Regions from separate parts of the Homo sapiens genome. Here all the other regions are linked to region 2. Evidence: promoter capture Hi-C in 16 types of primary human blood cells and fetal thymus (Javierre and others, 2016). All regions are on one chromosome and are shown on one strand. Each heading gives the region's core, a stretch centred on a gene start or on the middle of the fragment in contact. The rest is flanking DNA. Distances are from core to core; before and after follow the strand shown. Region 1 overlaps PARD3 (par-3 family cell polarity regulator). Region 2 holds the start of NRP1 (neuropilin 1). Region 3 overlaps PARD3 (par-3 family cell polarity regulator). Region 4 overlaps PARD3 (par-3 family cell polarity regulator). Region 5 overlaps PARD3 (par-3 family cell polarity regulator). Region 6 overlaps PARD3 (par-3 family cell polarity regulator). Region 7 overlaps PARD3 (par-3 family cell polarity regulator).

The links. Contacts are between HindIII fragments. The CHiCAGO score rates a contact against its expected background, and 5 or more counts as called.
Region 1: a fragment that was not itself captured here is called in contact with the fragment with the promoter of NRP1 in region 2 in 2 of 17 cell types (erythroblasts and fetal thymus); the score reaches 8.1 in erythroblasts.
Region 3: a contact is called between a fragment that was not itself captured here and the fragment with the promoter of NRP1 in region 2, in 2 of 17 cell types (erythroblasts and megakaryocytes). The highest score is 6.3, in erythroblasts.
Region 4: a fragment that was not itself captured here is called in contact with the fragment with the promoter of NRP1 in region 2 in 5 of 17 cell types (monocytes, megakaryocytes, erythroblasts and 2 more); the score reaches 7.7 in monocytes.
Region 5: a contact is called between a fragment that was not itself captured here and the fragment with the promoter of NRP1 in region 2, in 1 of 17 cell types (M0 macrophages). The highest score is 5.1, in M0 macrophages.
Region 6: a fragment that was not itself captured here is called in contact with the fragment with the promoter of NRP1 in region 2 in 6 of 17 cell types (naive CD8 T cells, megakaryocytes, fetal thymus and 3 more); the score reaches 8.3 in naive CD8 T cells.
Region 7: a fragment that was not itself captured here is called in contact with the fragment with the promoter of NRP1 in region 2 in 2 of 17 cell types (megakaryocytes and endothelial precursors); the score reaches 5.4 in megakaryocytes.

What each region holds. Positions count from the first base shown.
Region 1 is chr10:34,592,762-34,596,715 of GRCh38, forward strand. All of the region lies in intron 2 of PARD3 (par-3 family cell polarity regulator), which reads right to left. Among named protein-coding and RNA genes, the nearest start is that of PARD3, 220 kb to the right of the region's middle. The HindIII fragment of the contact is 1,204 bases long and covers 1,712-2,915 here.
Region 2 is chr10:33,333,222-33,337,323 of GRCh38, forward strand. NRP1 (neuropilin 1) reads right to left here and starts at 1,446. Exons shown (of 17, transcript NM_003873.7): 1 at 1,089-1,446. The coding sequence starts at 1,161. The HindIII fragment of the contact is 8,759 bases long and covers 1-4,102 here.
Region 3 is chr10:34,564,447-34,568,379 of GRCh38, forward strand. All of the region lies in intron 2 of PARD3 (par-3 family cell polarity regulator), which reads right to left. Among named protein-coding and RNA genes, the nearest start is that of PARD3, 250 kb to the right of the region's middle. The HindIII fragment of the contact is 1,478 bases long and covers 1,879-3,356 here.
Region 4 is chr10:34,655,252-34,659,243 of GRCh38, forward strand. All of the region lies in intron 2 of PARD3 (par-3 family cell polarity regulator), which reads right to left. Among named protein-coding and RNA genes, the nearest start is that of PARD3, 160 kb to the right of the region's middle. The HindIII fragment of the contact is 1,831 bases long and covers 1,384-3,214 here.
Region 5 is chr10:34,431,769-34,435,485 of GRCh38, forward strand. All of the region lies in intron 5 of PARD3 (par-3 family cell polarity regulator), which reads right to left. Among named protein-coding and RNA genes, the nearest start is that of PARD3, 380 kb to the right of the region's middle. The HindIII fragment of the contact is 1,458 bases long and covers 1,196-2,653 here.
Region 6 is chr10:34,616,308-34,620,088 of GRCh38, forward strand. All of the region lies in intron 2 of PARD3 (par-3 family cell polarity regulator), which reads right to left. Among named protein-coding and RNA genes, the nearest start is that of PARD3, 200 kb to the right of the region's middle. The HindIII fragment of the contact is 4,281 bases long and covers 1-3,593 here.
Region 7 is chr10:34,522,979-34,527,209 of GRCh38, forward strand. All of the region lies in intron 2 of PARD3 (par-3 family cell polarity regulator), which reads right to left. Among named protein-coding and RNA genes, the nearest start is that of PARD3, 290 kb to the right of the region's middle. RefSeq lists an enhancer at 3,022-3,777. The HindIII fragment of the contact is 719 bases long and covers 1,283-2,001 here.

The DNA.
Region 1 (3,954 bases), core at 1,064-3,563, 1.3 Mb after region 2:
AATACTCTGTCTCAAAAACTATATAATAATAATCATGCATATTTCACAGAGAAGAAACCAAGCCTCAAGAGATGAAATGACTGCTCCAAGGTGACACAAAAAAGGCACAGTCCATTCAACTAGACCTCCCCAGGATCTTGGAACCATGTTTTTTCCTTCTTCCCTTACCATATTCATTCAATACATTACTGCATGCCTACCTGGGCCAGAAACTTCTCAGACGCTACACATGCAGAAGGGAATGAAATGAAAGACAAATGGATGCTGCACCCATTGTTAAGCTGTAACATTGTAAAGGAAGAGGGTAGTGAGAAAGACACAAGTACGCCATCAATGTGGGTTTGAGGCAGAAATGTTACAGAGCAGAGCTAGATATTGCAAAGTGATAAAGGAGCTGTAAGGAGAAAAACAAAGGATGAGAAAACTAGTATTTGCACAACAGAGGCACATAGTGTAAGTAATCAAATCAGATAAATTCTGCACCTGCTTGAAAATAAAACATTAGAACTAAATATATACATCTGTGATTCCATGTCTACATATATATGCATATACATTTAAAGGATTTTTAAAATTCAACAAATATTTCTCAGTTGAGCACGAATTTATACCAGGTGTATAAAGCAATGTATAAGTTCCATGACAGACACAAATAAACCATACCAATATTCACCAGTCACAGAGATAATACATATTTTTATGATATAGAATGTGCATCATTTCTAAACACCTATTTAGATTAACTAGGATGAGCTCACGCACACACAGAGAAACACAAATGCACCTCCCAGCATTCAAACCTATAAATCAGTGAATATCTCAGGGCTATTAGAAAACATTAATTCAATTCCTCAAGCTAAATTACATTTCACAATTTCCATCAATGGACTTGAATAGAACCTTGAGATGATTAATGTTTTATCAGAGATTACCCAGACAGGGGAACAGAGAGCCTGCCATTTCAAATTTAGAATGTTAGTTCAGTACCACCTGCACAGGGAAGACATGAGCTACCATTCATATGAGCATTATTATTTAAATTTGGTAAAAACTTGAAAAAGTTCAACTTATTTAGGAATTCATTTCTGTCATTTAAGACTCGATATTGTTCTCTTGCTGGAAACCAAGAGACCGGAGATTTCTGAGAAGCCTTAGAAATCCCACTGTTAAAAAAGATGGATAATTCTTCTATGATCTGGGCTCCAGAGAGGAATAATGGGGCATGGTTTTGCAAGACTCTGCGACTCAGCTGTTTGAAGCTAACCCATTTTTCATAGATTTGCATTTATTACAGCCTACAATTATGACTTATGCCTCTCCCAAGCACTCAGACTATAGCTTCTTTTTGCACCTCAGAGAAAGCAAGGGTTTATTACTGTAATAGTCAATCATATGCCCTGAGGACAATACAGAGCACAGGGCACGTGTTTTGTTAGTAAGACTTTCTGTTCAACCTAAGCATGCTCTTGGAAGGACCTAGTATGTGTATAATCAATTTGTAAAAACAATGTCTTTGAAATGACCCACAGTTTCCACTTAATTTAATGACTATTACTTTTAAACTCATATTTCCAACTACCAGAAAGTCTTGAGGAAAGTGTGTACAGGCACTGCTGTTATAAAGAAGTGAACTAAATGGTCTTCTCCAATATTTTTATTAACTGTGTGATGCACTTATACCAGTATACATATCCATGAAGCCTGTATAAAAAGCTTTTCAACTCAGCTCTCACCTGGCTATGCAAGAGACCAGAAAACCTCAAGAATGGAGTAAGTGATGCCAGGAATTACGACGACAGGATTATACTACCTGAAAAGTCCTGAAGGTAGAGGAGGACGACAAAAAGAAAATCGGCTTCAAAATAAGTCAACCAGCCTGTGCAACATGGTGAGACCTCAACTCTACAAAATATACAAAAATTAGCCAGGTATGATGGCTCATGCCCGTAGTCTCAGCTACTTGAGAGGGTGAGGTGAGAGGATCACTTGTGCCCAGAGAGCTCAAGGCTATAGCAAACATCATACCACTGCACTCCAGGCTGGGCAAAAGTGTGAGACCCTGTCTCAAAAAAATAAAATAAAATAAAAATAAATAAAGTCAGTCAGATGAGGGCTTTTAACCAAGTTTTGGCATCTCCAGTGTGGTACATCTTGGCCATGTGACTCTCTTTAGTTTCTCCATGTAGCACCTTGGAGTCATTCTCTTTCTAAATACGGTAATGTCTAAAACACACAGGACAGAGCTCAGCTACAGTAGACATGTAGCAAAGGACTGTTATAATGATTAGTCTTAATTTACTTGCCAAACAACCAAACTTGAGACTGGAGTTCCACAGTTCAAGAACATGAATACTTTTTAAGGCTTAAAAGTAAAAACATTCTCTAAGAATATCACAATGTCAAGTTCAGACTACAGTTTGTGACATTCTGTCTCCCTTCTTCCATTCCGGCTTTGAAGAAGTCAAATTTGCCTCTCATTGAATGTTTAAGTCTTTCTTGTGGGATGGGGTAAGGAGCAAAGATTCATGAACTGAAACTACAATAGAAATTTCCATTGCAAAATATTAATGGCCTAAGTATTTACTGAGTATTCATTCAGAGTATTTGTTAAAAGTCATTTGAAAATGTAAAAATAAAAAAAATTTACTTAAAACTAGAACTTAAGTCTACTATAAAATGTGACTACATTCCATAAAGCACCTTACAAGGCACAATGCCATCAATTTGGTTAAATTTCAAGTTGATTTCACTACATTTTCTTATCCTAACGAGTACCCAGTGACACTCTACATGCCAATTACAGTGATTCTTTTCAGTCAGTCCCATCTAAACTATTTCAAGGAAGAAGGGTGTCTGGTACTATAACCTTCTAGGAAAAAGAATAAAGTTTCTGTATGCTGTAGTGGAATGAAATAAGCTTTTACATTGAAACAGACACAAAATAAAATTTTATTTTCACTTAGTTATTTCAAATATAAGGAATTCATTATTTAGGTTAAAAAAAAACACTCTGTCACAGTTTATACATTAGAATTTCCTTGGTTTTCTTTTTTCCTATTCTGCCTCAAATACTGAATAAATGAAGCCAGGTGCAGTGACTCACACCTGTAATCCCAGCACTTTGGGAGGCCAACGTGGGAGGATTGCTTAAGCCTAGGAGTTCGAGACCAGCCTCCCCAACATTGTGAGACCCTGTCTTTATAAAAATAAATAAATAAATGATGAAGATAAAAGCTTAATATTACCCTTGTATTGCATACCAACTTTTTCTTGAAAAACAATGGAAGTGGGGAAGTGGATACCATATTACTCTTTAAGAATCAAACTTTGTTCAAATTATTGCTTTTGTGCCCAAGCTCTAATTCAAGTTAAATGTGAGAGTCACTACAGATCAGATGAGATTCAGCATGCCTGTGGAAATAACTTTGGGAGCACTCAAGTTTGTAAGCAATATCCATCAAATCCAAATTTTTACTTTTTTTTTTTTAAGGAAATGTACTCACTTAGTTGACCATACCTGCATATGGAATTTCCTTCTATCACAAACACACAAATGTTTAAAGCCCTTGTATTAGTCTGATCTCACACTGTTATGAAGAAATACCTGAGACTGGGTAACTTATAAAGAAAAGAGGTTTAATCGACTCACAATTCCACACGGCTAGGGAGGACTCAGCAAGCTTACAATCATGGCGGAAGGCACCTCTTCACAAGATAGCACCAGAGAGAATTAGTGCAGAGCAAAGTGGGGAAAGCCCCTTATAAAACCACCAGATCTCGCAAGAACTCACACACTATCACAAGAACAGCATAGGGGAACTTCTCTCATGATCTCATCACCCTCCACGAGTTCCCTTCCCCAACACACGGGGATGACAATTTGGATTTCAACTCAAGATGAGATATGGGTGGGGACATAGAGCCAGACCATATCAGCCCTGCAGAAAATGCCAA
Region 2 (4,102 bases), core at 196-2,695:
CATGTTCATAATTTTTTTTTTTGCATGTGTTTTGCTTTAAGCATCTCTTAAAATACTGCTTGGTAGCTGCTGAGGGAAATCCATTGCTAAAATCACAAAACCTTGAAAAAGCATATTAGAGAGATTAACTTCCATCATAAAGATGTGATTTAAATTCCTGTTGGTATGAGGCCCTCCACTTGCGGTCTCTTATTAAAACAATATACCACAGTAAGTAGTGGATGTTCTTTTCTTCTAATTACTGTGATTGAAATCTAAGCCAGACAAAAGTAAATATTTGATCATTAGTTAATAACAATTGCTGACGACTTACTGTAAAGATAATTGCATACCCTTGCCTGCACTTACTTTACAGTGTGAAGTCAAACATGCCTACAACCAGATCCCATTTTAAAACACATTATTTAGGTTACATGGTACTGTTTAGACCCCAGTATAGTTTTTCATTTACTTAACAGTGAGTGATTTTAAAAGCTAAGTGGAAGCTGCAACTAGCTTAGGGATTTTCAGATATCCTGGTGCCTTACACTGTATATGTCAGATTCCTGTATTGATACTATGTAACTTTCAGTCATACTCCAGACAGATTACGGAAGGTGTACAAAGGCGGGGGAGGGAGTTTCATCAACCCACAAACCGATATCTCTGGCCGTCACCCACCAGAGGAAACGGCTTAGGGGAGCAGCAAAGGAACCAGGAAGTAAGATCTCCTGGTAAAGTGTTCATTAACTTTCAACAGCCATCAGATTTTTGAAAGGGAGTCTCTTCTAATTGCCTTTGGGAGGAAACATTATTAAGATAATTGGCATGCTGATCTGGGAAGGTAGACAGCTCTGTCTTGTAACAGAGGTAAGGAAAAGCCCCACAGCCCAAGGATCAACGTCAGGAGGGAGCCCAAAGACCTGAAATCCTCCTGCTCTAAACCGCCTGATCTCATTTCTTCTTCTCTCCTCCCAGATAAAAGTTTCCTTCGCCCGGGAGTCGGTTGTTCCCGGCTGATCCCGGGAAGCCCCGCCTGAGCCCCGGTCCGGGGCGGGCAGCTGGGAGCCGGGGCGCCGCTGTCACCCGCGCCTCTGCCTGTCACTTACCGTTGCGAAAAGCGCCGGCCGGGGCGAGGACGAGGGCGAGCACGGCGCAGAGGAGCGGCAGCCCCCTCTCCATTCTCCCTTCTCCGGGTCCGCAGGCAGACGCGGGAGAACGAGGACGTGGGGGGAAATGCAGCAAAGAGGAGAATCTAAGCGATCCGAAGAGCCCCAACTCCGCCTAGAGCTGTACAATCCTCAGCCCGTCTTGGAGAAAAGAAAGCAGCGAGGCAATGCCTGGATCCGAGAGGAACGCTTCTCTTTTTGTGTCTCAAGTCGCCTGCATCCTGTCATTTAGCTCCGGCTTCCTCTCCCTTTTCCCACACTTGTTCCTCTTCCAGGAGCCACTGCCCGGGCCATGTCTCAAAAAAAAAAAAAAAAAAAAAAAAGGCCGGGGGGGGGCTGTGGGTGGGAGGGGGAGGAGGGAGGTAGGGCAACACACACCAAAGCCAATTTCCAGGAAGAAAAAAAAAAAATCCGGCTTGTTTCTGGACCCGTTGGAGCCGCGGAGCTGGCGCCCAGGGGAGGTCCGGGTGTCTGCGGGAAGGAGGGGAACGAGCAATGAAAAGATGAGCGGGAGACAGAGGAGTTTCACCAACTGCACCCCCGCCTCCCCTCCTGCGGCCTCCCCCCACTCCGGAGCCCTTCCCTCGCTTCCTCCCGCCCCTCTCCCCGCTTGGGCTCGCCTGTAATTGCCTGACAGGAGACTGGGAGGAACAACTTTCCCTCCGAGTGCTCTCCCCGTCCGTCTGTCTGTCTTTCCCAGAGACCCTGCAGGGATCTCCGCGGGAAGGAAGGCGCTGGGAGTCTGCGCCCCGGTCGCGTGGGTGCGGGCGTCGGAGGAAGGGGCGCGGAGGTCAGTGCCAGCCGCAGGGTCTGGCCAGCCCACCTCGCGTGCTCGCTCTGCACCCCTAGAGGGAGAGCTGGGCAGCTCCTGCAGGCGCAGATCCCGCCGCCGCGCAGTGCGGAGCGCCCGGGAGGTGGCGGCTGCTTCTCGCAACTTCAAATCCCGGGGCCCGCGCCCTCGGCGGCGAGGAACGCAGGGTCACCCCCTGCCACTCCTCATCGCGCCATCCTGAGACCTGTGGCGGGGAGCAGCGGGGCACCCCTGGACGCCCCTGCCCAGAGCTGGAGGGCGAGGAGGGGAAAGCCGGGCTGGAGTGGGAGCCGCACCGCGAAGCCGGGCGAGGGGCAGCAGTGTCGCTGTGGTGTGAAGCGAAGACAGACCGCCTGGGCGGGCGAGGCCGGGCTGCAGCCCCACGCGGCCTCCCTGGCCCGCATCAGGGCGCGCGGCTGGGTGCCCTCTGCGCGCCGCGGAGGCTTCATTGTTTCCCGAGATTTGGTGCCCGTTCCTCTGGGGCAGAGGGAACACCGGAGGGTGGGAGGTGCTGCGCCTTCCAAGCAGGGGGGCAATCGCCGCCCGACCCCGCCCAACCTTGTCTGGGAGCCCAGGTGCTAGGGAGGGGTGTGGAAATCAGGGGTCGGGCGGCCCCCGTTTCTCTGTGCATCCCGAGGGAGGGAAAGAGTGGCGGGGGAGGGGTGCTCTTCGCTGCGCCCTCTCAGTGTCCGCTCCCGGCCACAGACAACGTGCACGCCGGCCCTGGAGCTCCTGCCACCCCCACTTCCCACAGCGGCTCGTGCCCCCAGCCCGCTGGATGCCCCCCAGGCCCGTCCCCGAGGGTTTTCCGAGAAGTGCTGCAGGAAGCGTTTGTAGATGCGAAAAGCAAGGACATTTCTGGGAAGAAACAGGTTGCGGTCACCGATCAGGCCCCGGAGAAGGGTCAGTGCCCACGGGGCACCTCCCAGGGAGTTTGTGGGTAAGGTGAAAAGGTCACACGCCTCCTGGGGATTGGCGTCTACACACACAGCCAAAGTACAGCCTGATTCCTACCTGGCACAAATAGCTGGCCAAAGGGAGGTAGGAATGCTGGCAAGGAGACTCTGGTCAAAGGTTTTGGCGGAAGAAAAAGGGGCGGGCAGGGAGAAAGCCCAAGGCGCGCGGGCCCCAGGCCAGGACTGCGCGCTCGCGACTCGGGCTGGGAGCAGTGACGTGCGCCCCTCGGGGTGCAGGCCGTTCCCGGGCCAGTGGGAGGTGCACCCACGGAGCCCGCACTCGCCACTCTCTTGCCCCGGGTCAAGCCTGTCTTCTCCTCCCCACGCGCCTCGGGATTCCCAGTCGCCAAGTTGGAAACTCGGCCCCCCCGAGCGCCTCTTTCCTCTGCCAGTTTCCTCCTTCTTCTCAGCTGTCGGACCCCTGGGAGGCGCGGGGTGGGAAGTGGGCACCGAAGGGCTGGGAGTTAAATGCCTAAGTTGAGCGGAAGGAGCACTGTCGAAGCCATGGGCAGCCCTGCGCCCGGGCAGGCGGGCAGGCGGGAGGCGAGGCGGGGGCGCCGACCGCGCCCAGCGCAGACCCCGGGGGAGTGAGCGCCGCAGAGGCAGCCTGGGCTCTCGGCTACTACCCGCGCGCGGTCGCCGCCTCCCCAGGTGCAGCCCCGCCAGTCCCAGCCCCCGGCTGCGCCGGGCGAGCGGCATCATCAGATTTAGGGTGACCCGGAGCGACCTCGGTCCAGGCTCGGAGGGAGAGGCGCCTCTCAGGACCTGGCAGGTTGACAGGGAAGGGGAACCGGGAGGGAGCGGCGGCCGGGGCGGCCTGGAGTCTCGGAGGCCCGCCTGCGTCCTGGGGGGACCCGACCTCCGCGCTCGCTCCGGAGCGCCCGTTTGGATAGCTCTGAGCCTCGGCGGGGTGAGCGAGGGGGCACACGAGGGAGACTTGAGCTGTGTTGTTTTTAGAAAACTGCCGCCAATCTCTCTTCCCCTTTCCCTGCTGAGTGTGCATTTTCCAGCCTAGACCCGCCAGGCCAGCAAATAAAGCCACCGGATCGTGCACTCCGGAGCGACTGCCCCCACCCCGACCTTGTCTTTCCCGAAGGGAATGGCTCCTCCGGCGCCTCAACGCACAGAAAACGCCTGCCTCCAGCTGAGCGCTTTTGCCAGCTTTCTCCAACCAGTGAATAAGGGAT
Region 3 (3,933 bases), core at 1,368-3,867, 1.2 Mb after region 2:
GCTTAGAAAAAGGCAAAAGACACAGGTCTTGCTCACAAGTCATCAGCAATCTTCGGAGGGTTTTGAGGGTAGGTTTCCAGCTCAGGTAGCTGGAATGTGTGTGATGGAGCTGCTGTAGCCTCTGTGATTCGGAAAAGAGCTAGCGAAGAGGCAGAGAGGAAAGAGAAAGAGTTGGGTCCTTGCTAACATTACTGCATTATGCAGTTAATTCACAGTCAACCTATTTTGTGATTATGCAACATACAGATCCTTTATTGTTTAAATCTCTTTCGGATGGATTTTCTGTTACTTGCATACAAGTTGAATGAGTAGACACTTAGGATGTTCTTGTTTTGTGAAAATAGTAACCACATTTGATGATCTGTCTACAATTGCAAGCCATTAATATAATTTTAATGTATGTATGAAATACAATAATCAACACATCTCCAATGTTCATGCAACTCATTTAATTCTTATAACAACTTTACAATGTAGGTACATCTCTTATCTTCATTTTAGAGATGGGTAAACTGAGGCCCAGAAAAGCCAAGAAACTTGCCCAAGTGCACAGAACTAATTAACTTCTGGAGCCAAGATCAGGCAGATTGGCTCTCAAGCCCATACTCACTATGCTGAGCAATACTGTCTATAAAATGAATAACATTAAAATAACTTTAGACCATCAGTGATATTAATTGCTGGCCAGAAATCTAAGATCATCTAGTAGCCAAGTATACTTCATCATGAAAGCTAGTTTAATTATATTAAGACAGTTCTTCGTCTGGTCACTACAGAAGACCAGATGGTCAGATAAAAGACAAAGGAGCAAGGCTTTTTTTTTTTTTTTTTTTTTTTTTTTGAGACAGTCTCGCTCTGTCACCCAGGCTGGAGTGCGGTGGCGCAATCTCAGCTCACTGCAGCCTCTGCCTCCTGGGTTCAAGCGATTCTCTTGCCTTGGCCTCTCGAGTAGCTGGGATTACAGGCGTGAGATACCACAACCAGCTACCTTTGTATTTTTAGTAGAGACAGGGTTTCACCATGTTGGCCATACTGGTCTCGAACTCCTGACCTCAAGTGATCCGCCCGCCTCGGCCTCCCAAGTGCTGGGATTAGAGATGTGAGCCACCGTACCCAGCCGGGACACTTTTATCTTAACTCTGTAAATAACTTGCTCTTTAACAACTTTGTGTTCCTGGTTCTTAAAATCCTCGTTTTTAAGAAGTGATTTTGATGCACAGTGTGCCTCACACCATGGCTTGATAAGCTGTTTTATCTTTATGGCATTCACTTTTCAGATGTGGAAAGACAGTGGCCCCTTCCCTTAAGATCCTGTGGAAATTGACAACACTAATCAGATCACCAGGTTATTTTTGAGGGGAGGAAAGCTTCAAAAAATGTGGAATTCAAATGATGGTGATAATTGGCTTTTCATAATTTGTTCCATTTTTCAAATTCAAGGAACAAAAAGTCGTGATTCAACTGATTTTCCATTGTGTCAAAAGGAAAATACACATCTTCATTTTTCAATGATTAAATACAGTCCAGTGAACTGGCACTGATGATCCAACTCAATACATTCCATCGATCCTGGAGCCACCCCAGTGATAACACAGGAGGACGGCTGTTCTTACTACATGAGGTCTGGAGCTGAGTCAACAATGTTTTGGGATGGGAATGAGGAATAATGTCCGGCCCTGTTACCACCACAACCAACAAATGACATTTTCTATTTTGCAAGAAGTATTGAGCTATTTTGTCTTTCTCAGAGATGGACAAACAGGGGGGCTTGTGTATTCCTGAAAGGGATGTGAAAACAACAGGAAGCACCTCTGTGGGACATTTCTATACAAGTCATTCAAAGCATCTGCAAAGAGGAAAGCCTTGCAGCCTTTCACAAGCTTAATCTTACAGCAAAACACAGATTTTGACTAATTCCAAAAACAGATTAAAACCCTTGAAAATGAGATCACATTCATAACTTGGTCTTTTCTGACCTGCAAGTGCAAAGATACCCTGGGGGAAGGCCAGCTGGAGGCTGAGAGGTACAATGACTAAAATGCATGGTAAATACATTATCCCGGAAATGCAGCCTGAACAGCTGACCAAAAATGGAAAGAAGGTGGTGCAAAACAAACCAAAATAAAAATTTACCTGTGTATTATCTCCACCCTCCCGCAAAAAAGCAGGTTTTAAATATGTGAGTTTTTTCTCTTACCTAAATGCACAAGAAATGTGTTCTTTTGCTTTTACAATAGAAAATATTACACAAAAGCCCCATCATAGTCTTATAGAGTTCTATCTAGATACTGACTAAATAAATTAACCAAAGTTTTTTTTACAATTGGCACCATCCATTCCCACATCAGGCCAAATAAAGCACAAGACACTGATGTGACTGCTGTTGAAGCCAATATTGCTTAAAGATAAGAATATATCTTTAAGTGTTATTATTAACACTCTTTTTTTGAATGTACTATTTTAAAGAGTAAAAATGACAAGAATATTTCTAAAATGGTTCAGGTACTTCCAGGATTTTTTTAAGTGTATTTTAAGATAACATTTAACTTCTTTGACTATAGTCACTTCCTCTATAAAGACTTGGAAATAAAGTATTGACAAGTTAAGAAAGACTGCCACATAGGAAACAAATAACAGGAAATGCACTTTATAGCTGTTAGTATAGTGCACCACTCAAAGAAAACACAAGGTTAATGAGATCTTGTTGAGCCAACCATTCCTAAAAGGAGGATTGCTAGGTGATGTGCAATAGAGAAAATGATACTGAACAAAGTACTGATATCAACATTTATATTTGTATTATGCGATGGACTGATTCTGCATGTGTTCTAAAAATAAATGCTAATCCACTATACAATTTTTTAAAAACAATGTCAAAATAAATGTTCACTTCAAAAATAATGGTAAAGAATGGAGACTAACGAGACTATTTTACATTAAAATATTAAAATATATACATATGCATGTGTGCTTAACATACTGTGATTACCAATATTATAAACATTTAAACCGCCAAGTCATTTCTGAAATAGTTTTAAACCTTAAGAAAAGTTGAGTCCTTTGGCGGCATTTTCTTTTTACACAGGTTTGACTTAGCATCAAACAAGTAGTCTAGTCAGATTTACAACCACTCACGGGTTAAATTCATCCACAGCACTTCCTACAAATCCTTAATTAACACAAGGACAGAGAGATACAAACATCAGTTATGCACTTTGACAATTTAATCTAATTTAAATTTTTCAGTGGCTTTTAAAGTAGTAATGACATTATTCATTTAAACAATAAGATAAAAATAGGAAGATCTGAAACCAGCAGCTACAGCTGGACGTGAAGCTATCAATATTGTACCAAGAAGCTTTGCACAATAGATGTGACATGAACAATTTCAAAATTATCCTCCAGCCATCTGTCCTCAGAATCGTGAGATGTAATTGTTGTAGGCTCTAGCTAGCAAGCATGATTAGTTCACTACGAGGAACGTGTCCTTGTATCCTATATCCAACAAAAGAGAATCTAGTTTTGTCAATGGGATAATGACTGCTCATGGGCAGGTTAAGGAACAAAACCAACTGTCTTCCATTCACTAGGCAGCTTTCTTCCTGTGGGGTAATCGAATATTCTGCTCTCTCACCTCTGCCTCCCAGTGTCCATCTGCAACCACCCTGAACCACATTTGAGTCTGTTATCCACAGTTCTTAGTGAAAAGGGAATGAGTTTTAGGAACAGCCTTCCAAAAATTGCATTTTATGCTGCTGGAATATCACTGACCATAAAGGTAAATCGAAATTTACCCTGCTAAAGTTAGTACTACAAGTGTGGTTGAAGTTTGCCACCATAATGATCACAGGTTTATATTCAACAAGTCATACGGTGATGTTTCCATTATTGGCAAATGAGATATCCTTTAAGAGGACTTAATTCATTAGGATT
Region 4 (3,992 bases), core at 1,049-3,548, 1.3 Mb after region 2:
GCAACATAAAGGTATATATGAGTTTCTCTTCTAAGGCCCCCATTTAGCTTTTTTCACAATGCACCTGTTTGTCTATAAATTGTTCTAGAATATTAGTTCACATTGATTTGTGTGTTTTATGTATAACACACAATAAGCACTGCCCTAGCCTGTGTTACTCCTGATCATACATGACTGTGGGTGTGTGTGAGATGGAGAGAAGTTCATGACATCACAACCAACCCTGGAGAAAAGTGCAGAATGGGGAGGAGCATAAATTACCAGCACACGATTCATACTCCAAAACTCCACTCTGATGTCTGGCTTTCAAGACCTTCCATTTTATGGCTCTTCCCAAGCTATTCTCTACCAACCCCGCAGAAGAGGGCAGAATGCAGAGGAGAGTAAATAAGGGGATGAGAACGCTGACGAATATAGCCATTGTCCCTTCCTCAAGAGCAGTAATAAAGTTACCTTACAAGCTGTTTAACCAAGAGCCTGGAGGATGACAATACAAAGAGTAGACACAAGGGGGAGCCAATGGGTCCATCTTAAAAGTAACTGGAGACCAGGAAATTGGGCTTTTAAGAACTTTAAATTCCACAAACAAGCCACAAAATGGGAATGAATGAAGTCTAAGAGTAACAACAGATGCCATGAAGGAAAGCAGCAAAGAGCAGGAGACACTGAGATTTCTGATTTTTAAATTCAGTTCTGAACTGAATTAAAAAACCAAAAGAATTTTTTTAATCGTGTTCTTCAACGTGAACTCAAAAACAAACAACATTTGAAAAGGATGACTTGGGAATGGCTCACTCACATACTAGCAAAATGTCAAAATTTTTTATGGTATACAAATTTGATGTTGAAGAAAAAAGTAAAGAGTAATTTTTAAAATTCCCTGCCTTTGTTAAACTTACTTAACACCACTGCCCCCCATAAACCACAAAAATTGTAATGTTAATGGGCTTCTCTTAGCTTCTCCTATATTGTATTCTACTTTTAACCTTCAAGATAAAAAAAAACCTATCTGAAATGCATGTCAGTTCCACATAAACTGACCTTAATTCCAGGAAGTGTTCTATGATAAATATATTGTCAGTAAAGGTTTTAAATATTGCTACTAAAGATGTAATTATAGATGCTCAAGTTTTCGTACTATTGAAGTACATTAATTAAAACTTGGCACAGTTGAAATCAGAGAACATATGAAAGGAGAGTGACGTGCATTTCATATCGAGGGTAGCATAATTATTACTTTTGATAAAGATGTTCGGAAGAAGGCGAGAGTGCTGTGCCTGTAATAACCTTAATCATCATTCAATACAAAAGAACCAATCCATCAAAATCCAAAAGGATTTGCTTATTGTTATGCTTTTAGAAAGCTCATCAGGTATTTCCAAAAGCTTCCTAATGACAATAATTAAACATCTGGTAATGGTGACCTACTTGTGGCTGCTGAACTTCCTTGGATAGTCTTTTCCATTAATTATGTACATGCTGGGAACTGAGAGAGAATTTACATTATGAATAATAACTCAGGGCCGCAGGAGAAGTCAGAAACCGACAGGGGCAACTCCCTGCTGTCCTCACTGCTATCTGTATTAAGGCCTTGTTAGCGCTCTTGTATTTGGGAACAGATGCTACATAAAAATTGCAAAAGCATCAAGCTAAGGCATGCATGCATCTTGATGTAAACATGTTGTGAGGAAACAGCCTTCTAATAAACATTCAACACTGTGCCTAAGGGAGAGAAGAGACAAGCTGTCACATTTTCTACTTTTTACTCTGTGTAGAATTACGATCTGATGCAAACTTTGACCCTAAACTTATCAAATAAGGCCCAGGTCTGTTCTAGCCTTGGCAATTGCATAAATAAGAAAAGCCAGATCACAGCTGGGCACGATGGCTCATGTCCGTAATTCCAGCACCTCTGGGAGGGCTGATTGAGGCCATAAGTTTGAGATCAGCCTGGGCAACAGAGGAGATCCCACCTCTACCAAAAAAAAAAAAGTCAGAAAAGCCAGATCGAGAACATGCACACTTTCAAACATTTCATAGTTCCTTAAATTTCAGGGTGAAATGGGAGAGAAAGGTAGGAACTGAGACAATGATGTTTGTATTGGCCTGAAATTCATCTGGTGATGAAATAATTATTGTCCAAAAAAAAAGTCTACTTCGATCTATTTGACAATCACCTGATAACCATTTATTCTCATTGGATCTGTGTCCTTCCCCAAAGCCACATGATTTTAGTAATTAACACATCACTGTCACCTTTCTGCTTCTCAGTTTTGTTTTGTTTGTTTGTTTGTTTGTTTGTTTTGAGACGGAGTCTTGTTCTGTTGCCCAGACTGGAGTACAGTGGCACGATCTTGGCTCACTGCAACCTCCGCCTCCTGGGTTCAAGTGATTCTCCTGTCTCAGCCTCCCGAGTAGCTGGGATTACAGGCACACGCCACCACGCCTGGCTAATTTTTGTATTTTTAGTAGAGACGTGGTTTCGCCATGTTGGCCAAGCTGGTCTCAAATTCCTGACCTCAGGTGATCCGCCTGCCTGGGCCTCCCAAAGTGCTGGGATTACAGGCACGAGCCACCACACCTAGCCACTTCTCAGCTTTTTAAGAGATCAACAGCCAGGCGCGGTGGCTCACGCCTATAATCCCAGCACTTTGGGAGGCCGAGGTGGGCGGATCACGAGGTCAGGAGATCGAGACTGTCCTAGCTAACACAGTGAAACCCTGTCTCTACTGAAAATACAAAAAATTAGCCGGGCGTGGTTGCAGGCACCTGTAGTCCCAGCTACTTGGGAGGCTGAGGCAGGAGAATGGCCTGAACCTGGGAGGCGGAGCTTCCAGTGAGCCGAGATTGCGCCACTGCACTCCAGCCTGGGCGACAGATCAAGACTCCGTCTCAAAAAAAAAAAAAAGAATCCACAACATAAGTGGATTTATTCAAATGTTTTTTTAAAAATGTGTTTTATACCTTTTGGTAAAGATGTAAAAATAAGTACTAGTACTAATAACTAGATACTATTTTAAATTACAATATTCCTTAGAATAAATTCAATTTGCTGAATTCTGAATATCATTTAATAAATGCCAAAAATAAGGTCAGGATCGAGTAAGGAAAACAAATCACAAAACAAATCCTTAATATAAGGAAGAGGGTAAACAGGTAACTGCAGCACACCTACCACCCGCGGAACTGAGGAAATTCGGTTATGAGAACCTGAAGCTTGAAGGCGGCACCAGGGGCAGACGGTACCCACCCTCCGAGGAGAAGATGCTGGGGGCTGGGGCTGAGGCTGAGGCTGAGGCATGAGGAGCTTAGCAGAAGGACCTCGGTGCTGATTCTGTTAAGGGGGCCTAAAGATGTGGACAGGGGGAAAAAATCTAAAAACGAGAAGGAACTGCCAATTAATGACTATTGCTGGGCAATGCAGACAGGAACAGGAAGCAAACAAGGGCCATGTCCCCCCTCCTGCCTGCCAGGCTCCAGCTCCCTCTAAAGCTCCAGGGAGCAGCTAGCAAAGGAGACGTCTCCTCGAAAAGCAGAGCACAAATGGCTGAACTGCAGCTGAGAAATAACAACTTAATCCTGGTGCATTCTGAGCCTCAATTTCCTCACCTATAAAATGGACAAAACACCAGAGCCCATTCACAGAGTTCACCACGTGTGTTAAAATAAGTACAGCATTTATAATTGTGCATGTCACAGAAGACATGCTAAATTTATATATATTATTTTCAAAGTGTTTTAGTTTCTACAATTTCACTGCTTAGAATTTACCTACAAATTCCATGTTCTTAGTGAAGAGTAAGGCAATGCAAGCGCACACACAGTACTGGCTTGGTACACACCCTCAGGAATCAGATCCTGAAAGGCACACCCAGCACAAAGTGAGGAACCAGGAAACCTGCACCTCCCAAGAGGCTCTGCCTCCAAGGAGCCTTGACACACAGGACAAACCAACACATGTCATCTGCCCTGAGTTTCCTCCACTAAATAAC
Region 5 (3,717 bases), core at 675-3,174, 1.1 Mb after region 2:
GCCGGGTATGGTGGCTCATGCCTGTAATCCCAGCAGTTTGGGAGGCCGAGGCGGGTGGATCATTAGGTCAGAAGATCGAGACCATCCTGGCTAACACGGTGAAACCCCGTATCTACTAAAAAAATTAGCTGGGCGTGGTGGCGGGCACCTGTAGTCCCAGCTACTCGGGAGGCTGAGGCAGGAGAATGGCGTGAACCTGAGAGGCAGAGCTTGCAGTGAGCCGAGATCACGCCACTGCACTCTAGCCTGGGCTACAGAGTGAGACTCTGTCTCAAAAAAAAAAAAAAAAAAAAAAAAAAAAAAGAATGCAGAGAACCCAGAATATCAAGATAATAAATTTGATTTAACTTAAATCAAAATACAGTAGGGAGTGTTTTGCATGCTTTTAAACTTGCAGGTGAGGAAATCCAAGTGGCAATTTGGAAGACTAAGCAAATAGGAAAACGCAGAATTGATTTTAAAAACAAACAGATGGAGAGGGAGACAAATATTACATAGGTCTAGTCAAAAGGAATATGGCTGAAATGAGAACAGGTGCTGTGAAAATAGAAAGATATACACGTGCACATACACACACACACACACACACACACACACACACACACACAGAGGAGTAAAGGTATAATATATAGTACCTGGCACTAGGTAAGACATAAAAAATTAGAGAGAAGATAATAAGAGAGTAAGTTTGAAGCCTGGGAGACACAGAGCAAAATTAAAAGAAACAAGAAAAGAATGGCCAATCATAGAATTTTCTGGGCGTAGGAAACACCAGAAATTAACTACTCATGATTTCACAGGGGTAAGGTAATTCTGAACACATAGGTTGCTATATATGGCCCAGATCCATGGACAATGAGGTTCAGAACTGGCAGTTTCAAGTCACATTGCCCTTTTTATTAGGGACCACTTCCCATCTCAGGGAAAACATAAAGATGGTTTACCTTCACCCATGTTGAATCTGAGTGATCAAAAAGATATCTAGACAGTAGTGACCAGCCCATCCTTGCAGGTAAGCACAAGTCTGAAGGAACAGGAAGAGGAACTAAAGTAACATAAAAGTTCACCAAGGAAGAGCATGTAAAAACCCATCCAGAGAAATGACCAGCACTCAGGGAGGTAGAGCAAAAAGAAGAAATTTCTATAAATAATATGAATGAGCTTAGAAACAGAATGTCAGAGGAGTGAAGAGGAAAGCTTCTCCAGGGTGCCACAGATCCAAAGTGCTATTTCAGCCATTTACTAACAGCAGGGGGAAAACTGCACATGTACCTTAAAGTACATTTAAAGTACCTTAAATAAAATGTTTACTTTCAATAAAAAATTTCTCTGCATATTTTACCATTTCAAATATATTTAAGGAACTAAGACACAGGATTCTACCTTTTATTAAAATCTACAACCAAAGGAGTAACAGTTAACTGTTCTGTAATAATGTGTAATCTAACATAACTTACTCCCAAGTCAAAAGCAAAAACTTAAAAATTCAAATAGTCATTATATTGAGCCACAGAAAATACACCAAGTCACTGCCTAAGTCATGTCCAATATTAGACAACTAAATTACCAAAAAGTTTCACAGATTGCTCAATGGAAAAACCTTTTAAAAATAACAAATACATTATTTTATTTGAATCAAGACCTATTTTTCTTGGCCAACCTACAAAAATATGTTTCTCTTTCTAAGAGTTCAGGACATTAATACCAAAGTCTCAGCCAGAAGTTTATGAAAGTATTACTGAACTGGATCTGTTTATGATTATAATACAAAGTTCTCAGGAAAATTAGTCCCCCAAGGGACTTAAAATATGAGTAATTCAAAAAGCCCAGATTTCTGCTGATATAATCAAACTAACATTCCTTGCCCTCCCCTCAAACTTTCTCCAATTTAATCTAGAGGAGATTCTTGAAAAGTTAATCATTCAATGTAAGAAAATATATACTATCTATGGAATAAGATTTTTTTATCAAAATGGTTGCTGTAAAAATGTTTTAAGAGAAGAACATTTCCAGATATACAAATTACAAGCAGAAAGCCCTTTATAATAACAAATGTATTCAATAAAAGCATGGTTACGCTAGGCTGCAAACGTATGTGACAGAGACCCAATGCCTCCACACATTGAGTCATGCCTCCCTCGAAAACAAAGCAAATTAAAAACTCAGAGGAACAGATATGGGTCCTGCCCTCTTTAAAAAGAAAGACATAATTAAAATGAAATTTGGAAAGTGCAAGGATGGGAAAGAATAAGACACTATTATGTGTGCCTCACATTGGTTTTGGCAGGGATCGGGTATGGCTAAGAATAATGAGCTGAAGGAGGCAGGTGGCAGGAGATCAGAACAGCAGATCCTAGGCAGGAAAAAGGGAAGAGTTGGCCAGCATGTTCAAAGACCCAGAGATGCAAGAACAGGGTAGATCTGGAGACTAGAGTGAGTTCAGCAGGGCTGCCTAACCTGGGAATGCACCCTGGAAGCAGCTGCGATCCACATGGTGAAGGAACATCAGGAAGACTCAAAAAGGACAAAAACACCAATATCAGCCCTCACACTTAGAGTATTTCATGTGTTTTAGCTACTGTCTTAAGAGCTTTCCATGACTCATCTTATCTCATCCTCACAATCCTCTGAAATATATCACAATAGATTATGAAGCTTGCTCTGACACTTAGAAAGTTCAGCAGCTTGGTCAGCATAAGACATGCTGTGCAATTCCAATCCAGGTTGCTGCAACTTCAAGCAGCTGTTAACCACTTCACCCACGGTGTTCCTGGGTATGGTCAGAGCCCCAGAGTGTGTCAAGCAGTGCTCCTGACCACACATCAGTCTAGCCACAGTGGACAAAGAGATGTAAACAGGGAGGAGGGCTGCAGTGTTGTGTAGTGACCCAGGTGAGAGCTGTTGACAGCTTGGACTTTGGAAGTAGTAATGAAGATGCAGAGGGATGAATGAATTTAAAAATACAATTGCCAAGATTAGAGGCATACAGAAAAGAGGAGGAAAAAGTAAAGAACACTCTAAATATCAATGGCTGATAAAAGGTGCAATATCAGGATCCTGGACTGTCTTTTCCTTAGTGAAAATAGCCTCAAAATAACATCATAACTATCACATTCACACACCAGCACATATTCACATTCACACGAGGCTTTGCTATGAGCTGCACAAATTCTGTATTTATTTTGATCAAGCATAAAATTAATTTAATTAATTAGGACAAGTTGACATATAAGAGATAGAAAACCAAAATAAATAAAGGTATCAGGGAACGGTAAAAGACATTTAAACATTCTGTCATTCTAAACACTTACATGCAATTTCAGAAATTCCACATTTGATATCTAATATTAATTTAATACTTATTTATCCTGTGTATATGTGTGCATAGCTGTTTCTGGTTTACATTTTGATATTACAAATAACAGGAAAAAAAAAGGAAGTCACTGTGGCTATCTCTGGTACTTTTGTTGTAATTGCAGATGGCAACACTTCATCATCTCAACTTCTTAAACATCAGAAAGGGAAAAGTTTGGAAACATCAAGAACAATCTAAAATCAGTTGCTTCCTAGAGTCAACGAATCAATATATCCAAAGACACAGAATTCTTACCAGCCAGGACTTCCAAATACTCATTTAAGCCAATAAATGATGGAACAATGAAAGAAAGAGAAAGACTGCCAGATCCAAATAGGTAGTAAGATAATGAGAATACAAAT
Region 6 (3,781 bases), core at 203-2,702, 1.3 Mb after region 2:
CTCTCTCAAAAAAAATTAAAAAAAAATTAAAAAAAGCAGAACAATCATACATCCAGCAACCCCACTGCTGCATATACACCCAATGGAAAAGAAATCAGCACATCAACGAAATATCTGCGTTCCCATGTTCACTGCGGCCTTATTCACAATAGACAAAATATTGGAATCAATCTAAGTGTCCAGCAACTGATGAACAGGTAAAGAAAACGTGGTCTATACACACAATTGAATACTATTCAGGCAACATGAATGACCCTGGAGGACGTTATGTGAAGTGAAATAAGTTAGGTACAGAAAGATAAATACAGCATGTTCTCACTTGTACATGGAAGCTAAAAAAGTTGATCTGGCTGGCTGTGGTGGCTCATGCCTGTAATCCCAGCACTTTTTGGGAGACCAAGGAAGGAGGACTGCTTCAGCCCAGGAGTTTGGGACCAACCTGGGCAACACAGGGAGAACCATCTCTACCAAAAAAACAAAAGCCAGGTATGGTGGCATGGGTCTATGGTCTCAGCTACTCAGGACACTGAGGTGGAAGAAACATATGAGCATGGGAGGTGGAGGCTGCAATGAACCAAGATCACACCACTGCACTCCAGCTTGGGCAACAGAGCACCTGTCTCAAAAAAAAAAAAAAAAAAATAACTAAATTAAAAAGTTGATCTTGGCCGGGGGCGGTGGCTCACACATGTAATCGTAGCACTTTAGGAGGCCAAGGCGGGGATCTCTTGAGGTCAGGAGTTCAAAACCAGCCTGGCCAACAAGGTGAACCCCATCTTTACTAAAAATACAAAAAAATTAGCCAGGCATGGTGGCAGACACCTGTAATCCCAGCTACTCAGGAGGCTGAGGGAGGAGAATCACTTGAACACGGGAGGTGGAGGCTGCAGTGAGCCGAGATCACGCACCATTACACTCCAGCCTGGGCGACAGAGCAAGACTCTGTCTCAAAAAATAAATAAATAAATAAAAATAAAAAGTTGATCTCATAGAAGTAGAGAGTAAGCCAGTGCTTACCAGAGACTGGGAAGGGGAAGGTAGGAAGAGATTGGTTAACAGACACAAAATTACAGCTAGATAGGAAGAATTAAGTTCTAGTGGTCTAAGGCCCTGTAGGGTGAAAACAAATACTAATGTATTGTGTATTTTCAAATGGCTGGAAGAGAAAATTTTTAATGTTCCCAATACAAAGAAATGAAAAATGTTTGAAGTGACTGATATACTACTTACCCTAATTTGACCATTACACATCACTTAAATATCACACCGTATGCCATAAATATGTATAATTTTTGTCAAAAATAATAAAATAATGTTTAAAGTACATTTCAATTTGTCTATAGATAACACAGTATTTGGTCCACAAGACCACAACCAAGTGATTATTTCTCAAATTAAAAGCAAAGCACACACAGACTGAAGGCAAGGGAGACATGAGTAGGCAGCCTTCATGGGACTGGCTTCATAAATTTAAACTCACTAAAGGGATGCCTCCTTCAAGGAATAAAGGGCTACACTCTAGGGGCTCAGCCTAGAGAGATCAAAATTATACATTTATTTTTTTTTACTTTTTTATTTCTCAGATTGGGTTAAAACTGTGAGAGAGAAAACTTTTAAAACCTACAGTTTGTTTTGAAATTTTAAAAGTAAAACATTTTAAAGTATTAGCTATGGCTTCTCTATACACTGTGGCACTCAACTGTATTCTGATGGAAAAATCACTTTCTTTTAATAGAGGACCGTCAAAACTATGACCTTTCTAAACTATAACCACAGGGCTGTTTAAAACATTAAAAACAAAGCACAAATCCTCTACCAGTTCCTCTGAAATTTGGGCTTCCTAATCTGTATTTAAATTTTTAAGAACTTTAAACATAGCTGTATTTATTAAGTGTTCAACGATTTTCCATTAACAATGACCTACACTCAATTAATGAATCCAAATAAAAAAGTCTTTTAACCTAAGACCTCCCAATATCAGAAGATGTGCAAGTCTCCAAGCTCCTTAGAAATTCTTAGTTTGCTTCAAAATAGTGACTCCCGCAAACACTGAAATAGATTCCTTTTCCAGCATACTTAAAATAGCTTTTCTTAACTCTTGGTGACATCAAGTGACATCTTGTACTGTGAAGTCAGAATGTAAGAACGCTTCCACAACAGTGGCAAAGTAAGTCACAATTCAGGTAAAAATGAGAAAGTGACATCTCCAAAAACAAAGTAATAGCACTCTGGTAAACATGCCTATCAATTCATTTTAAAAAAAAAACTGGACCCAAAAAATAATAGACCCAAACTGAACTAATGGTATGTATCAATCAGGAAATAGATGAGCCACTTTCAAAACTTCAAATGTCTTCTTAGCTAGGACATCCTTCCTGACTGACTGTTTCCAATAGGATTTCCAAAATATCACACTCTACACATCTAAGATCACACCACTTTCCACCCGTTCCACATTCCTGTCTGGCAGAGGCACTGGCTTTTTCCAACCTGCTGGAGTCATGCACACCTCCTCCTCTCTCCTCAGTTACACAGGTGACTCCTCAACACTAAGGTAATATTTAAGGTCAACCACAATATGATCCCAGTCTCCTTTCTGGTTTCACTTGGTGCCACTTCCCTAAGGTTTCCTCTTTGTCCTCAGAGCACACCTCGTGATTCTTAGAAATTAGCTTTCACTCATCCCACAGCCCCTCACTGGATGCTCTAGAGTTCACCAATATAGTCCCATAAAGCCTTTTTTTTTTTTCTTTTTTTTTTTGAGACAGAGTCTCAGTCTGTCACCCAGGCTGGAGTACAGTGGCATGATCTTGGCTCACTGCAACTTCCACCTCCTGGGTTCAAGCAATTCTTGTGCCTCACCTTCCCAAGTAGCTGAAATTACAGGCATGCACCACCACGCCTGGCTAAATTTTGTATTTTTGGTAGAGACGGGGTTTCACGTGTTGGCCAGGCTGGTCTCGAACTGCTGACCTCAAGTGATCTGTCCGCCTCAGCCTCCCAAAGTGCTGGGATTACAGATGTGAGCCATCATGCCCGGCCCACAGTCCCATAAAGTCTTTACGGTGTAGCTCAACTCCACCTTCTCCTAAAAAATTGTGTTGTTCTCTCTTCAACTACAATGGTGATGCTGACACTTATGAAGTTTATTGGCATTCAAATATTTATTGAATGAATAAATAGCTTAAATATCCTGCATTTTATTGTATAGAATTATAATGTTATTTGCCAACTTTTTTCTTTTTTAATTTTTATTTTACCACCACCACCATGAGATTGGAATACTCCAGCATGGGTAGTCATCTCGTTTCTCACACTGCTGAATCTGTCTGCTGTGATGCTCACATTGTTATGGAAACAGTAGGTGCTCAAATATTTAATGGAGTCTCAGAATATAAATAGCATTTTAGGATCATCTGGTTTAACTACCAGTTAAAAATCTTTGAATGTCCTCTACAATATTTCTACTGCTCACCCTTTACCTGAACTCCCTTCCTCCACAGGCAGCCAACCTCAATGTTTGAGAGCTCTGACTTCAGGAAACTGTTCCTGACACTGGCTCTCCAGCCTTCTCCCTGATATTGTATAAAATAAGCTTACCTCTCTCTGTTTCTGCATAATATAATAGCAGAATGAACCCTTATGAAGGTTCATCCCTTCATGCATTCACTCAACAAATACCTTGAGGCCAGGCACCTGGGATATAAAGAACACACACACCACCACCACCTCCTCCTCAGAGACCCCACTCTCATGGAGTTAAAAATAAGCATAAAATATA
Region 7 (4,231 bases), core at 392-2,891, 1.2 Mb after region 2:
ACCTCTGAATAGGATTCTGTTCGTTTTTGATTAATCAAACGTAATAACCTGCCTTTACCAAATTAATGCAATTTTGATGACACCACTTAAAATTTTTCTGAACATATCTGAGGGTAATGAAGATCATCACAGACAATTCATCCTGCTGGTGCCATCACTCAGTCTTAAACAGAGGGCTTAAAAGGATCAAAGAACTTGCAGATTCTACCCTCATACAGGAAAATGAAAGCTGATTTAAGCCAAGTCTAAGTGAAATCTCAAAGACCTCTAGGTTCAAACTCCACACACCCTGAGAAGCCATTTTAATGTGACACCCTGTGAGCAATCTCTCACTTTCCATTGCTTTCTTCATGTATAAGCTAGACATATCCAGGGAAAGTCAATTATGATGGGTGTCATTGGACACTCAATGTCAATATATGCAATTGTTTTCCTATGAAATAAAGACTTATAATTCTTTTAAAAAGGCATCATATTTTGGCCCTGGATAAAGTACAAAACATGTTGGAGAATACTAGAAACAAGAATAAACTTGAAGATGCCTCCATGACCCTCTCTTCATCTAAGAAACATGAGCAGCCTCCATGAGTCAAGCCAGATCCAGCGGCTTAGTCAACAAGAAGCACAACACAGAAAGTGCGTGTTTGAGAGATGACAGGGAGATGTCATGGGCAGATGTGCCTATAAAGAAGAATGTAACAGAAGAGAATAGAAAGAAAATTCAACAGATATGGGAGAACTAGAGCATAATGAAATAAATTTCAAAAACTTAACAATAAAACTAAAGGAGTTGGAGATACATGCATTTTTTAAGTTTGAAGTCAGGCTGTTCCATGATGTATAATTCTAAACTATCACTAATTCAAAAATCACTTTTCGTCTCCATAGTTTATAAATTATAGATTTCTATAATTAGGATCATACCTACCAATACATTTAAATTCTTCTGCCCTTTCACTCAAGGATGTCCAAAAAAATTATAAATTAGATCAAGTATTTGAGTTTCTGAATTCCCCTTTTTCTATCTCTTATTTTTTTTTAAGATTTCATTTACACTTGTCTCCCATAAAGCACACGTGATAACCTGTGGCACTTACATAAAAGAAAAACTAACCAAACACTAACATGCTTTTGTAGATTATCACAGTGTATTATCCAACATAAGAAAGGGAGCTAAATGAGATCAATCTTTAATAAAGCCATTTCCAGCAAAATATCATGCAGGAGAGGGCAGAACATTCCCGCTGCTTCCTGAACAACACAGGAGACCACCATCATCATAAGCTTCTATCTGTCAATTGCCAAAGGGAGACCTGTCCGACAAGAGCTAATGCCATCCTTTAAGAAGAAAGTATTTCTTGAACACTCATGCCTAATAGAGATATTCCACTGCATCTGGAAACCACAGTGAAAGATATTCACCTATGATACTCCCTAGCCCTGATGCTTACATTTCAGAGCTGAAATTTAATTCTGTTGTCCCTCAGGGTGACATAGTCTATCACCCACTGAGCCTTCAGACTAATTAGATTCCCAGTTTAAGACTTATGTTCAACTAATAGCCTTGAGTATGTCAACCACAAACCACAATGAAAATATGCAAATTCGTATAGCCATCAGCTAACTGACCCACCTGCCAAATATAATATAAACCCCTCTTGCTCTACTCTCTATCATGAGTGCCACTGTTACACTGGTATCCACCCATGAGGTTACAACTACATAACACTACTGCTTAAGTATTAATAAAAAGTAGGATAGCACAGTAAGACAGAACAAAATAATTCAGAAATGGGCTAATCACATACAGATAGGTTGACTCCAAACTGGAGGAAGTGGCACGAGTTGTGATTTTATCATGAACACATGCAGTGTTCCCTCAAAGAGAACATGGTAAGACTGGCAAATGGGCAAGATGAATAATCTCAGAAGCAAATGCGATGATGTAGTAACTAATTATTACGTAGACACAACAAAAAGGGAACTAAAAATCAATTTGTAAGCTTTCTGATGACTGAATTTACTTTAATGACACAGAGACAATACTAAATCCTTAATCATTCTCTGAGCCTTACTTGCTAGCATGGTTCATTAAAAACTCATTTAAATAGAGCTAGTGTTTAACTGGACGAGTAAGCAAAAGGATATATTTGAACCAATGATGTTTTGTAATCATAGTAATACAAACTATACCAATAAAAACTCGCTACAGAACAAGAATCTTAAGCTTGCCACTGGAAAACTTTAAATGTTATGCATGTGAGATTAATTCCACGCTTCATCAGCATATTAAGAAGGGTATATACTGTCTGATAAAAAAGACCTAAAACTTAGAAAAGAACACTAAAATACCATGAGCACATTAAAGACTAGCGAATGTTCCTACTGGCTAAGCCAAGAATGGCAAAGTGTGGATAGACTTTCTCGTACACAGTACCAGGAAACTTGACCTCAAACCCGTCTCAGGCTCTAGCCCCATGGTTTGTGATATTAGAGCAGTACCTCACCTATGGGTATATGTTCCAGCCTTGCCACTCTGCCAACCTTCCAACATATCTAAGAGGGAGTAACGTGGAAACAGGGGTCAACAGCATAGTGTTCTAATCTGTGAACAATTTAGCTTGACAATTCATATGTTTACGTGTATCCAGAAATGCCTGCATTAACAAATGATAAATAAGAGAATCCCTCAATAGTAACTCTTTAAATTAACAACACAGTCTGCAGTAGGGATTTTGCTTAAAAGAAAAAAAAAAGATTTTTTTTTTCTAAGAGGCGTGAGCCTCTGTGCCCGGCCAAAATATTTTTATTAATCAAAAGTCCACCAGGCATGGTGGGTCATGCCTGTAATTCCAGCACTTTGGGAGGTAGAGGTAGGTAGATCATGAGGTCAAGAGATGGAGACCATCCTGGCCAACATGGTGAAACCTCGTCTCTACTAAAAATACAAAAATTAGCTGGGCGTGGTGGCACACACCTGCAGTCTCAGCTACTCGGGAGGCTGAGGCAAGGGGAATCGCTTGAACGTGGGAGATGGAGGTTGCGGTGAGCCAAGATCGCACCACTGCACTTCAGCCTGGTGGCAGAGAGAGACTCCGTATCAAAAAAAAAAAAAAAAAAAAAAAAAATCCAACACCATGTAGGAAATAGATAGGTCTTAACGAGATAAACCAAAATCTCTCTTTCTCTCATACACAGACACACACACAGCCTCTCTAAACTGTAATTAAAAGACAACCACCACCAAAACCCACAGCACCAATCACAATGTTAAACGTTAGTGAGCAAGCAACTGGGGGTGAAATACTTTCCATCTTCTTCCTAATCTCCACTAAACACCACTCCCTTCACTCCCAGGCATAAGTCACATCCTGAAATCTCCCCCAGTCCCTACGCTGTAATAGTCCCAGGGCATGAAAAGCTGCCAATGTGAATGCACAACCCAGAAACATAGCAGGACAGTCACGACCAGGCAGGAGCATGCCCTGCTCTCCTGCTCCTCTGAATGTCTGCATCCACTGGTGAGTCCACAAAAACAGAGCTGAGATCCTTAGTGGGAAGGCCCTTCCTTTCTAGTCTTTCAGAGCTGAGATCTTTAGTTAGGAAGGCCCTTTCTTTCTAGTCTTTTTACCTCTTCAGCTAGCTGGATATAGTAAACCAGGGCTTGGTTCCACGGGTGGGGAGCCCTTGTCTCCATACCCACACACCACCCTCAAACCCTCCTCCTGCTGTGCCACCAGCAAGTTACGAATGTTTAGATGCAGGGAAAGTAGGAGTCCCACTTAAGCTACAACTGCCTCCTCCTACCAACTTGTACCGTTGAGCTCCCTGCTACAGTTCATATCCAGTGTCGTCAGAAACAAGGGTAATTCCGTCTCTACCATCAAGTAATACCATCTCACAGAACCGAGACATTCCCTCGTTGGGCTTCCTTAACGCATCACTCATTCCATTGTTGAACTTGTAAAAAATGACTCATCACTAAAATGTCTTGCCATCTGGTAAACTCTATACTTTATTTTTTGGCAATCAGTAGTGGAAAACTTTTCATTCTAAAATAGAAACTTGAAGGATCACTTCCTTAGTCCTAAATTTTGCAAATTATATTTAAAATGAGAAGCACTAGAAAAGAAAACTTGGCTGTGGCTTTGGCCAATCAATCAGAACTGGGAAGCAGTTAAGCAATTTGCACAAAGTCATGGAAAACTTCTCCACACAATGTTAGGTCTAG